Linked DNA regions of Homo sapiens: regions 2 and 3 are each linked to region 1. Evidence: promoter capture Hi-C in 16 types of primary human blood cells and fetal thymus (Javierre and others, 2016). All regions are on one chromosome and are shown on one strand. Each heading gives the region's core, a stretch centred on a gene start or on the middle of the fragment in contact. The rest is flanking DNA. Distances are from core to core; before and after follow the strand shown.

What was found. Contacts are between HindIII fragments. The CHiCAGO score rates a contact against its expected background, and 5 or more counts as called.
Region 2: a contact is called between a fragment that was not itself captured here and the fragment with the promoter of UXS1 in region 1, in 1 of 17 cell types (naive CD8 T cells). The highest score is 6.1, in naive CD8 T cells.
Region 3: a contact is called between a fragment that was not itself captured here and the fragment with the promoter of UXS1 in region 1, in 6 of 17 cell types (monocytes, M2 macrophages, M1 macrophages and 3 more). The highest score is 29.7, in monocytes.

What each region holds. Positions count from the first base shown.
Region 1 is chr2:106,192,349-106,195,739 of GRCh38, reverse strand. UXS1 (UDP-glucuronate decarboxylase 1) reads left to right here and starts at 1,439. Exons shown (of 15, transcript NM_001253875.2): 1 at 1,439-1,592. The coding sequence starts at 1,499. RefSeq lists a silencer at 1,357-1,966 and an enhancer at 2,297-2,346. The HindIII fragment of the contact is 11,333 bases long and covers 551-3,391 here.
Region 2 is chr2:105,861,880-105,865,331 of GRCh38, reverse strand. All of the region lies in intron 3 of NCK2 (NCK adaptor protein 2), which reads right to left. Among named protein-coding and RNA genes, the nearest start is that of NCK2, 120 kb to the right of the region's middle. The HindIII fragment of the contact is 237 bases long and covers 1,743-1,979 here.
Region 3 is chr2:106,534,962-106,538,157 of GRCh38, reverse strand. It overlaps a transcript of CD8B2 not described here. Among named protein-coding and RNA genes, the nearest start is that of CD8B2, 49 kb to the right of the region's middle. The HindIII fragment of the contact is 1,645 bases long and covers 766-2,410 here.

The DNA of each region.
Region 1 (3,391 bases), core at 190-2,689:
CCCCTCTGGGAACCCAGGACTCAGGCTCCCATGCCAGGTGTTTTGTCACTTGGCAGCCTCCTTGGACACGTCAGAGTCAGGGAGCTGGGCTTCTCGAAAGAAGTCCACTCCATCTATGGGCAGCATGCATAGCAGGGGCAATCCGCCTTAGCAAACCGCTCAGTGTTTCCTCCTAGTCAGGGATTCTCAACAGGTTTAGGGGAGGGGTAGGATGGAGGTAGGTTTTATCAGAATCACATCATTTGCACTATAGTTTGAAAGATGTAACATAAAGCTGCTGCTTTAGTACCAGCTGCCATATTTCCTTTTCTTGGAGGTTTCTAATAAATCTAAAGGAGGGTGATCTATTAAGTTTTGCAAAATGGCCTGAGGTTCCAAGAGGTAGGAGAGCCGCTGCTGACTTCAACTTCTCCGTATAGCTGAAGATGACCTCTTGAAGCCTGCAGATCCCAAATCCGGGATCTCTCTTAATGTGGCATCACACACATCTGTGTGTACCTGTCTTTTTTTCCTCCATGGGACCAGCTCTCTCCAGATCCAATGACAAGCTTCCGATTATCTGTGGATCTTCTGATACATCTCCTTGCTTGTAATCATCATTCAGTAAATGCTTTTTAAACACAGGTACCTCCTATGCAATCAGTACAGCACTCATAAAACAGATATACTCAACAAAAAGATTGAATGAAACACACACGACAACATGGTCAGGGTTTTTCTCTAGGCAGAGACAGCGCAATTTCATCTTTTCTTTTCCAAGTCTATCCTAAATTAATATACTTAGCACTGCTTTTTAAAATAATAATAAAAGACTATTATTAAAACAAAGGCACCCCAGTTGATCATAGCCAAGGAAAAAAAACGCAGCCAGTTTTTACTTCGGCAAGGTTTAGGGGATTTATCATTTTCGCTGCCGATATTCTAACTAAAAAAAGCCAACTAAACAGCCCAGAGAACGAGGCAACTTTCTGAGGCAGGCATTCAACTTCTAAGGCTCGGCCAAGTTTAGCAAATAAGTTTCGTTTCACTGCAACACCGGAATGCCCACCGCGTGCCCCCCTCCGGGCGGGGCTCGGAAACTGGCCACTGCAGTCGTGCCCTTGGGTTGGGGACGCACCTCAGCGAAACGAATCCAGCCGCACCTCCCGGCTGGCACCCGCGCGCTTTAACTCAGGGAAAACAGACCGGAACGCGCATGCGCCGCGGCGCGCCGCACCGCCCACCAGCCCTCCAGGTCACATTCTTCGAAAACCAAGGCAAGAAAGGCGGCAACTGCGCCTGCGGGTAGAGAAGCCGGAGGGGCGGGGGCGGAGCCGGAGGAAGGGGGTGGAGGCGCGCCTGCGCGGTGATCCCGCCAGCAGGAAGCAGGCGCGCGGGGGCGGGGGCGCGCGGCGGCAGGAGGCGGGGCTCTCGGGGCCGCTGCCGCCGCCGCCGCCGCGCATTGTGCAGCAGGCGGGCCCCCGCGCGGTAGGGCCCTGGACCCGCGCGGCTCCCGGGGATGGTGAGCAAGGCGCTGCTGCGCCTCGTGTCTGCCGTCAACCGCAGGAGGATGAAGCTGCTGCTGGGCATCGCCTTGCTGGCCTACGTCGCCTGTGAGTGCGCGCCCGCTGCCAGCTGGGGAGCCCCATTCATTCCCCGGCGCCGCGGTGGGCCGGGCGGCGGTGGTTCGGGGCCCCGAGGCGGCCCTGCAGCCCCGCGTTGCTCCCCGCCCCGGGCGGGGCCGGCGCTTTCTGCTCCCACCCCTTTCCACTCTTGCAGCAAAGCGGGCCAACTTGGGCGCACACCCCCTACCGCTTAGGCCCGGGCGCGGACCCCGGGCGGAGGGGCCCCTAGCAGTCCTCGGGCGGCCCCAGGTCTCTGCCTCCTGCCCGGGCGCGGGGGACTCGGCGGCGGCGCTGTCGTCCATGTCGCGCTGGGAGCCGGCGAGGGTCCCGGTCGGGGACTCCGGAGCGTGCCGCGTGGGGATACCCTTGGGGACAGCCGAGGTCGCGCCGCGGTGTCGGTTAAGTCGGATAAAAATACTGTGGCCATTGGCAGAGCCCCCGCTCCGACTGTTTGCTCCTCAGGAAAATTACTCAGCGTTTAACTCTTGGGGAGCCAAGTGTGGGCGGCTCCCCGGCCCGCGGCCGTGCCCAGGTGTCGGGGCGCACCGGCATCCCCATTCTAGGTTTTCCCCCGGGGCTCGGCGGCCGGGCGAAGCAGGCAGGCAGCTGGGTGGCCGGGCAGGGCGTGCCTGCAGCTTCTCTGTGCGCGGGTCCAGTTTCTGTCATCGCTCACAGCATGCTGCCTGGAGACAGGGCAGGAGGGGCACTTCGCAGGCAGGTGGTCGGCCCTCTGCTTGTTAGGGAAGTCAGAAACCGTCCTTTTAAAGATCTATTCGTTGGGAATGTTTTAATTGATGCTATTAATACGTTACCAAGTAGCAAAATTGGACTAGAAATAGCTCCCAGTGTGAGCTGCGTTTGAATGCTAGCCACCCAGACACACACTGAAATGAAATCACCTGCTAACCTGTTGGCGTTACCAAGATCTGATTCCAGAGGTGAGTGGGTACTTCACTTGTCTGAAGTGACTTCAGTTGAGCTCTAGGAAGGCAAGTATGAGTAGATCCAGCCTGTGTGCTACAGCCCAGCTGTTCAGGAGGTGGAGCTGGAAAACCCCAGCAGGACTCCGGGTTGCTAGGGGAGGTTTCAGGCGTCGGATGGGTGTTAGATGTGTGTAGTTTTGCAAGGGAGGAAGAACTAGTCTAAAGTGTGTGTGTGGTCAATCTTGAGTAAGAAAGCTGAGACCCAAGAGGAAAGACCATTTAAAGTTGAATAACTATTATTATGGCAGTAATACTACCTACATTTGTTGAGTGCTTAACTGTGTGAGTCATGATTCTTAGTGCCATTGTCTCAATCATTGAGCAACCCTGGGAAATCGGTACTATAATGATTCCTATTTTAGAGGTGAGGAAGTTAAGGCCAAGAGAGATTAGGAAATTTATGGATGATCACACAGATAGTAAGAGAAGGAGGGCCAAAATTTGAACCCAGAAAGGCCTGGGAGCAGGAGCTAGAACCCAGGTCTTCGAACAGCAGTTTCAATGTTTATTTTGGGGGTATTCTATAGTCGCTGCAAGGGTTTAGAATTAATAAAGTAGGGGATTTATGGAGCCATGGGAAGTTTTTTTTTTTTTTTTGAGACGGAGTCTCGCTCTGTTCAGCCCAGGCTGGAGTGCAGGGGCGCGATCTCGGCTCACTGCACGCTCCACCTCCCGGGTTCACGCCATTCTCCTGCCTCAGCCTCCCAAGTAACTGGGACTACAGGCACCCGCCACCACGCCCGGCTAATTTTTTGTATTTTTAGTAGAGACGGGGTTTCACCATGTTAGCCAGGATGGTCTCGA
Region 2 (3,452 bases), core at 612-3,111, 330 kb after region 1:
ATCAGTTTTCTCACATGCAAAATGAGGCTATTATGATTTCCCTAGTAGGCTTACTGTGAAGATGAAATAAAAACATATTCGGGCACCTGGCAGGTACCTAGCACACTTTAGGCACTCGAGGAGAAATAATTATCACGGCCCATTTGCTGGGAAAACGCTTGTGAGATTAGTTTGGGGGACTTGGTTTAGGCTTTTCTACTGCATGAGCTTTCTGTTTGGCTTCAGGGTGGAAGCCACATACTCCTCAGCAGGGAGGTCAGGGAGCACTGATGCTGGCTGAGGGAGCCTGCGGCCCTGACACCAGCTACCAAGAGGCCTCCTGCTGGGGAGGGCTCTGGTGACCGCTTTTTAGTTGAAGGTACTCGTGTTATTTGGATGGTGTTATTCCAGTGTTATTCTTTCTAGTATTATTTGGATGGTGTTAACTGCATCTAAAGTCATCCATTTGCAGGGAACCGTGTGTGTGTGTGTGTGTGTGTGTGTGTGTGTGTGTGTGTGTGTGTACATGCACATGTGAGCTAGAGGTTACAGATCTTTCCCGTGGGTTCGGAGGGCCAAACTCATGTGTGAAAGGGACAAAGAAGAGAAGGCCAGGTCCAGTCTTTAACATGAGAGAAATTGAATGCCTGGCTGAGGTACCTAATCAGCTGCCTCAGAAGTGCCAGCTCTCCGAGGTAGGCCCTGGATTACATTATCTTTACACATCTGAAAATGAAAATTCACTGACATAAAGAAGTATGTCATAAGGATAACTGTGTACCTCCCAAGCCTGAGATTCACACCTGCAGCCTTCTCTGCATCCTACTGACGTCCCACCCTAACCTCAAACTCCACTACGCACCGTGGCTCAGTCTCCTCTTACTTCCCCCACTCTCTGGGTCACTGTTGGTCCTTCAGGCTGGAAACTCTTGAGTCATTCTAATACTTCTCCGAGGTGTTCCCCATCCAGTCAACAGAGTCCTAGGGGTTTTCCTTCAAAATCTTCCTTTTCTCTTTTGTCCTCCATCCCCACAGCTGAGCTCAGGGCTTGGGATGTCACCCTGGGTCACTCTCAGGCCCCGTCCCCCACCTCCCACTGCCAGGCTCAGGCCCTTCCAGTCGTGTCCTGAAGACAAGGATCAGGACCCCTGCCGGACACCCCAGCACTCATCTCCCCCTTAAGCCCTGTGGAAACCTCCGAGGGTTCTTTTTTCACACCCAGGGCCTTTACGGTGTGGCATGCCCCACCCCAGAGGCTGCCCCAGCCCTCTTGCTCACCCCAGTCCGGCTGGCTCGCCGATGGCCTTCCCCACACCTATGGGTTTCCGTCTTCACATCCTCACTTGCACTCTGCATCCCTCAAGTGAGACCCCACCCCCCCTCGCCAAGTCTCAACCCAGCTCAGAGTATTCTTCACATGAATGACTTCCTTCAGTTCTCAAAAACTTTATGAGACAAGCAGTCACGTATCCCGTTATACAGACGACGCAACTGAGGCTCAGAAGCTTCAGCGGCTTGTTCAAAGTCACTCAATGATTAAGAGCAGTAGGTGGCAAAGCCTGGATTTGAATGCAGGTGATCGAAGACTCCAGAGTCCTCCCTCCTGCCCACAATGCTACATGCTCTCTGAAAGCACAGGTGCCCGAGCTGCATAACTCAGCCCTAGTTTCCCATTGGACAGGAAGGGACAGTGCTATTGTTTGAATGAGGACTGTCCATCTTGTGCCAGTATTATTTTCCCGATTATATTACAAATACAAGCTTCAGAAAGTCAGGGACTAAGCCTTATCCTTCCTTCACATCCCGACCAGATGAAATAACATCTGACCAGGCTCCCCCTTCTGATCGGAACACACCCTATTACACTGTTGGGGTTGCTGCATCGTGTCTGCATCCCTGTTTCAAAGCCTTTGGTTACTGTTCTCAAAGGTCACTCACAGCAGAGAATGCAGTGGCTCAGACGGGATTTCCAAGGGATAGAGAAAGGGACAACTGAAGCTTAGACTCGGCTTCCACGAGAACCAGGCTGCTGCATTTGTTACCCACATTTCATTTCAGAGATGAACAGCTCTGCCCTTGTTGAGACCTGTGAGAATATTTATAATCACGATGACAGACCCACAATCCTATAATGCCGAAATGAGAATTTCCGATTTCCCAGCAATCACAGAGGCTGTGAGCCCAGGAGCTCAAAACAGCCTGGGGTGACCCAGCAAGAAGCAGAGATGGTTTTCACTTGCATGCTGGGGATATAGATATGATGAATAATTAGAGAAAGTTCTGAATCATGTACTGTTAGAACCATTCTGTGAAGCATCAGCTGGGCACGTTGACATCTGGTATTATTCTCATGTTCTAAGTCCAACTGCAGCAGATACTCGATGATTCTTTCTGGCCTCTTAAAGGCTTATGCCAAACTTAGGGCACTGCCCAGGCACAGCAGGGGAGCCCAAGTCTCCAGACTCCCAGCTACCTTTACGGCCTAGGGTAGTCTCTAAACCACTGCTGATATGTCTGCTTCTTTTAGTGCACAGGAAAATTACAAAAACGGCGCAAAAAACATTATTTTCCCCAAGCCATTTGAGACTAAGCTGCCAAGACGATGTTCCATTACCCGAATACTTTATGTGTATTTCCACAAATAAGGGCATTCATCAAAATCAGTAAATTTATATCAATACATGACTATCACCTCACCCTTGAACCCCTTCAAGGCTTGCTAGTTACTCCCGAGGTTTCTCATTTCTAAAACAAAGAACTTGGTATAATTCTGACTCTGGGACAGAGTCCCCCCAAACGTACAAAGCGGCCTACCACTAAATCCAGATAGTCAATTTGGTAGAGGAAAAATAATTCAGATTAGATCTGAAGTCCCCTCTGGGTCTCGTACCTGTGACTGCTGTGTTCTCAGGCTTCATTTTTTCATCTGTGATTAGTAACACTACTGAGGCTGGCCTGGGGTGCTATTACATATTTTCATATGAACTGGACATTTTCATAAATTTATGTACCATGTAACTAAAATCTTGCTTGACTACTCGACTAACCTGGGTCTTTTGATCTAAGTAAAATCAGCATGCTTAGTATGAAGCACAGGCTCAAGACCGACCCCCTTCCCACTAGTCTGAAGCCCTCTAATTCTTCCTAGACATAATTCTAGAGTCTTTACCACTGATATAAAAAAATGCCTGTAAGTGTTAAGCCGCCTGGTAAATTGCAAAGTGCTGTATAAATTGCAAGCTGTTGCTGCTCTCATTACATGTATTTATGCAGGCTAACCCTAACTAAAGGGCCTTTAGTTACCCGGGGCAGGGCTGCCTTCCCTGGTTGCAGTTTACAGCCAGTTACCCTGATCCCCACCTGCTACTTCTTGTAGCCATTATGCAGGTGGAAGAAAGGGAAGGGGGGAGCGGGCAGGAGGGAGGGAGGGAGGGAGGGAGGGAGGGAGGAAAGAATTCCAGGCCAGTCTGATC
Region 3 (3,196 bases), core at 339-2,838, 340 kb before region 1:
AGGAAGCTTGCAAGGTCTTTGGTAGTCAAGCTGATGACTTACGCTTCCCTAGACCAGCAGCTTTGTCTGGGCACACCCAGATGCGTGCAAACACTTTGAGCACTGAAGGTCCGCAGGCCTCCGCAATCACTGAGCATTTGAGACTCCTCTGGGGCCATGCATCCACCAGCTCTCAGCGCAGGTCAGAAAAGGAGCCTCACAGAGACTTCTCATTTATTTTACATTCATTACCCTGCTAATTTCCAAAGCGAGGTGCCTGAAGCTAGCTTAGCAACAAGCAGGCGTGACGGCTGTCCCACGGCTGATTCTGAATGTGCTTTGTCAGTGTGTTTGTTTTTCCTTCGTGCTAACTTTATCTTCAGAACCTATTAAGTTTAATCCCAGCAGTACTAATTAGAGGTGGCAACAACAGAAATCCTCTGCAAGGGCTTTTAGAAATCGACCGCCACTTCAGTAAGAACAGCCATGCTCTTCTTTTCATTCCTTGTCGCTTCCTCGGGCATTCCACAAGGAGCTACAATCTGGTGTTTAGAGAGCTGAAGGGCACTTATAGAACCAAGCTCTACACCAAGTAAAAAGAGATTTTAAGCATATGTGGATTCAAATGAGAAATCTGTGCAAGTGTGCCACACACCTCTCTTAACCTCATTTGGGGATTTCTGTGCATACTGTACTTAAAATTAAGTAAGATAAGCTGTTTTTAAGATGTCGTGTCTTGGTGGCGTTGAACCATAATTTTCTGCCTCCTCAGTGGAAGTTCAAGCTTGTGGTCATACAAGGAAATGTAAACTCTGAAACTGAAGAGCTTCACTAGGACTACTAGGGAAGTGCAAGTTTAGGGAAATGAAAGTTGTCTCCAGGGTATGACATCATCTGATGACCTTGTGATGAGCCCATGGTTTATTAAATGTGTTTAAAACACACATAGGGAAGTGAGGGGTGAGAGACGGGGCAGGTTAATAGCAGGGCAGCATTTGGGGGGAAGCCCAGAGCATGAGGCCTGGTTAGCACCATATTCACATGTCCTGTCTTCCTCTCCCACATCGGTTTTCCCTGCTGATGGGGTGGTGACGAAGACCAGATTTGGAGTTGGATCAGGGCCTCACAGACAAAGGGCACCTAGAGCCAACAGCACAGATGTGTCCTATTGGAGAAACACAGCAACTTGTTCTTCTGAGAGACGTACTGCACTGGCTATAGCTGCAGGTCGCCAGTTAGCCTGCTGGACAGCCACAGTTTGATTGGCATGCTCTGGGCTGATGCAGGGGTAACAGAGCTGTCAGTCCAGTGAGGGCATGATCAGTAACACTATTTGCGCCATCATATATTCCATGTAAGACTTCTGTCTTCAACACATCACACCCATAATTAACTCACCATTGAACACATTGATGAATCTGCCCTTACTTCACAAGCCACTTCTCACTCATTTCCTTACCGTAACACACCCTTTGAGATGCACCTGCACCTCATGAGCTGGCAGCTCGCCTACCCTCTGTGCTTAATATGCTTCTCAGTTTCACCCTTTTCATCTATTCATTGTTCTCTACAGCAAAGCTGAATATACTTGATACAGCAAAGTCATGTCACAGTAAGAATCTAAAGTCCATTAGGAGTAAGTTTTGGGAAACCTCTCCCACCAACCTATATCTAAGCTGAAATGGTTTGGGTCTGTGTCCCTGCCCAAATGTCATGTCAAATTTAATCCCCAAAGTTGGAGGCAGGGCCTGGTGGGAGGTGATTGGATTTTGAGGGTGGATTTCTCCCTTTGCTGCTGTTCTTGTAGCAGAGTTCTCAGGAGATCTAGTTGTTTAAAAGTGTGTGGTGGCCAGGCGCAGTGGTTCATGGCTGTAATCCCAGCACTTTGGGAGGCCAAGGCAGGCGGATCACCTGAAGTCAGGAGTTCGAGACCAGCCTGACCAACATGGAGAAACCCTGTCTACTAAAAATACAAAATTAGCCAGGCACAGTGGCACTTGCCTGTAATCCCAGCTACTCAGGAGGCTGAGGCAGGAGAATCGCTTGAACCCTGGAGGCAGAGGTTGTGATGAGCTGAGATTGCACCCTTGCACTCCAGCCTGGGCAGCAAGAGCAAAACTCTGTCTCAAAAAAAAAAAAAAAAAAAAAGTGTGTGTGGCACCTGCCTCTTCTCTCTCTTGCTACTCTGGCCATGTAAGACATACCTGCCTCCCCTGCGTGCCTTCCACCATTATTGAAAACTTCCTCAGGTCTCCCCAGGAGCAGAGCAGAAGCCTCTATGCTTCCTGCACAGCCTGCAGAACTGTCAGCCCATTAACCCTCTTTTTTCTTTTTAATAAGTTGCCCAGCCTCAGGTATTTATAGCAGTGCAAGAATGGACTAATATATAAACCATTAGCTGGAATCTGGTGAATAAAATCTCTTACAAGCTTTAGAATGTTAGAGCTGGGATTTACAGAATGACAACTAGCAAATAACAACATGGAAAAATGTCCAGCTCCCCTGTTGAGTAGAGAAAAGTAGAAGGGCTTTATGCAACTGGGTAAGATGTATACCCAAGCGTGGGAACAAAGGAACACACAAGAATTTTTAAAATTGTATTACGGTGATGGAATTACGGGTGATGTTTTCTCTATTTTATAAACTTGCCTTACTGTTCTGATTAAAAAGTATGTAAAAGCTGGTAGGAGCCTCATCCATCACATGGGCAAACACCTTCAATTTCCTACACAAGGACCTTCTTTGCATAGTAGACTATTTCTGTTTAGCCTTAACTCTATGTTTTTAATATTGATGTTTTCTCTCAGGTGATGGCAGCCCTGGACCTCAGCAAACAACCTTGGTCTATGTGGCATTGGCCTGGAAATGAGTGTCTGCAGCCTGGAAATTTAGATCTTAAGTGTGCTCTTGTTGCAGTGTCTGACATGCCCCCAAACGACTGTCCCTAGAGAAACATCTGGGACTGTGAGTAACACACATGGAGAGGAAGAGAGGGAGGAAGCCATGGATTTTTCCAAAAGGTACCGTTGGGACATTATATGCAAAACATTAGGTCTTGGCCGGGTATGGTGGCTCATACCTGTAATCCCAGCACTTTGGGAGGCTGAGGCAGGTGGATCACTTGGGGTCAGGAATTTGAGACCAGCCTGGCCAACATGGTGAAACTGCATCTCTACTAAAAATACAAAAATTAGCCGGGCAAGGTGGCACATGCCTG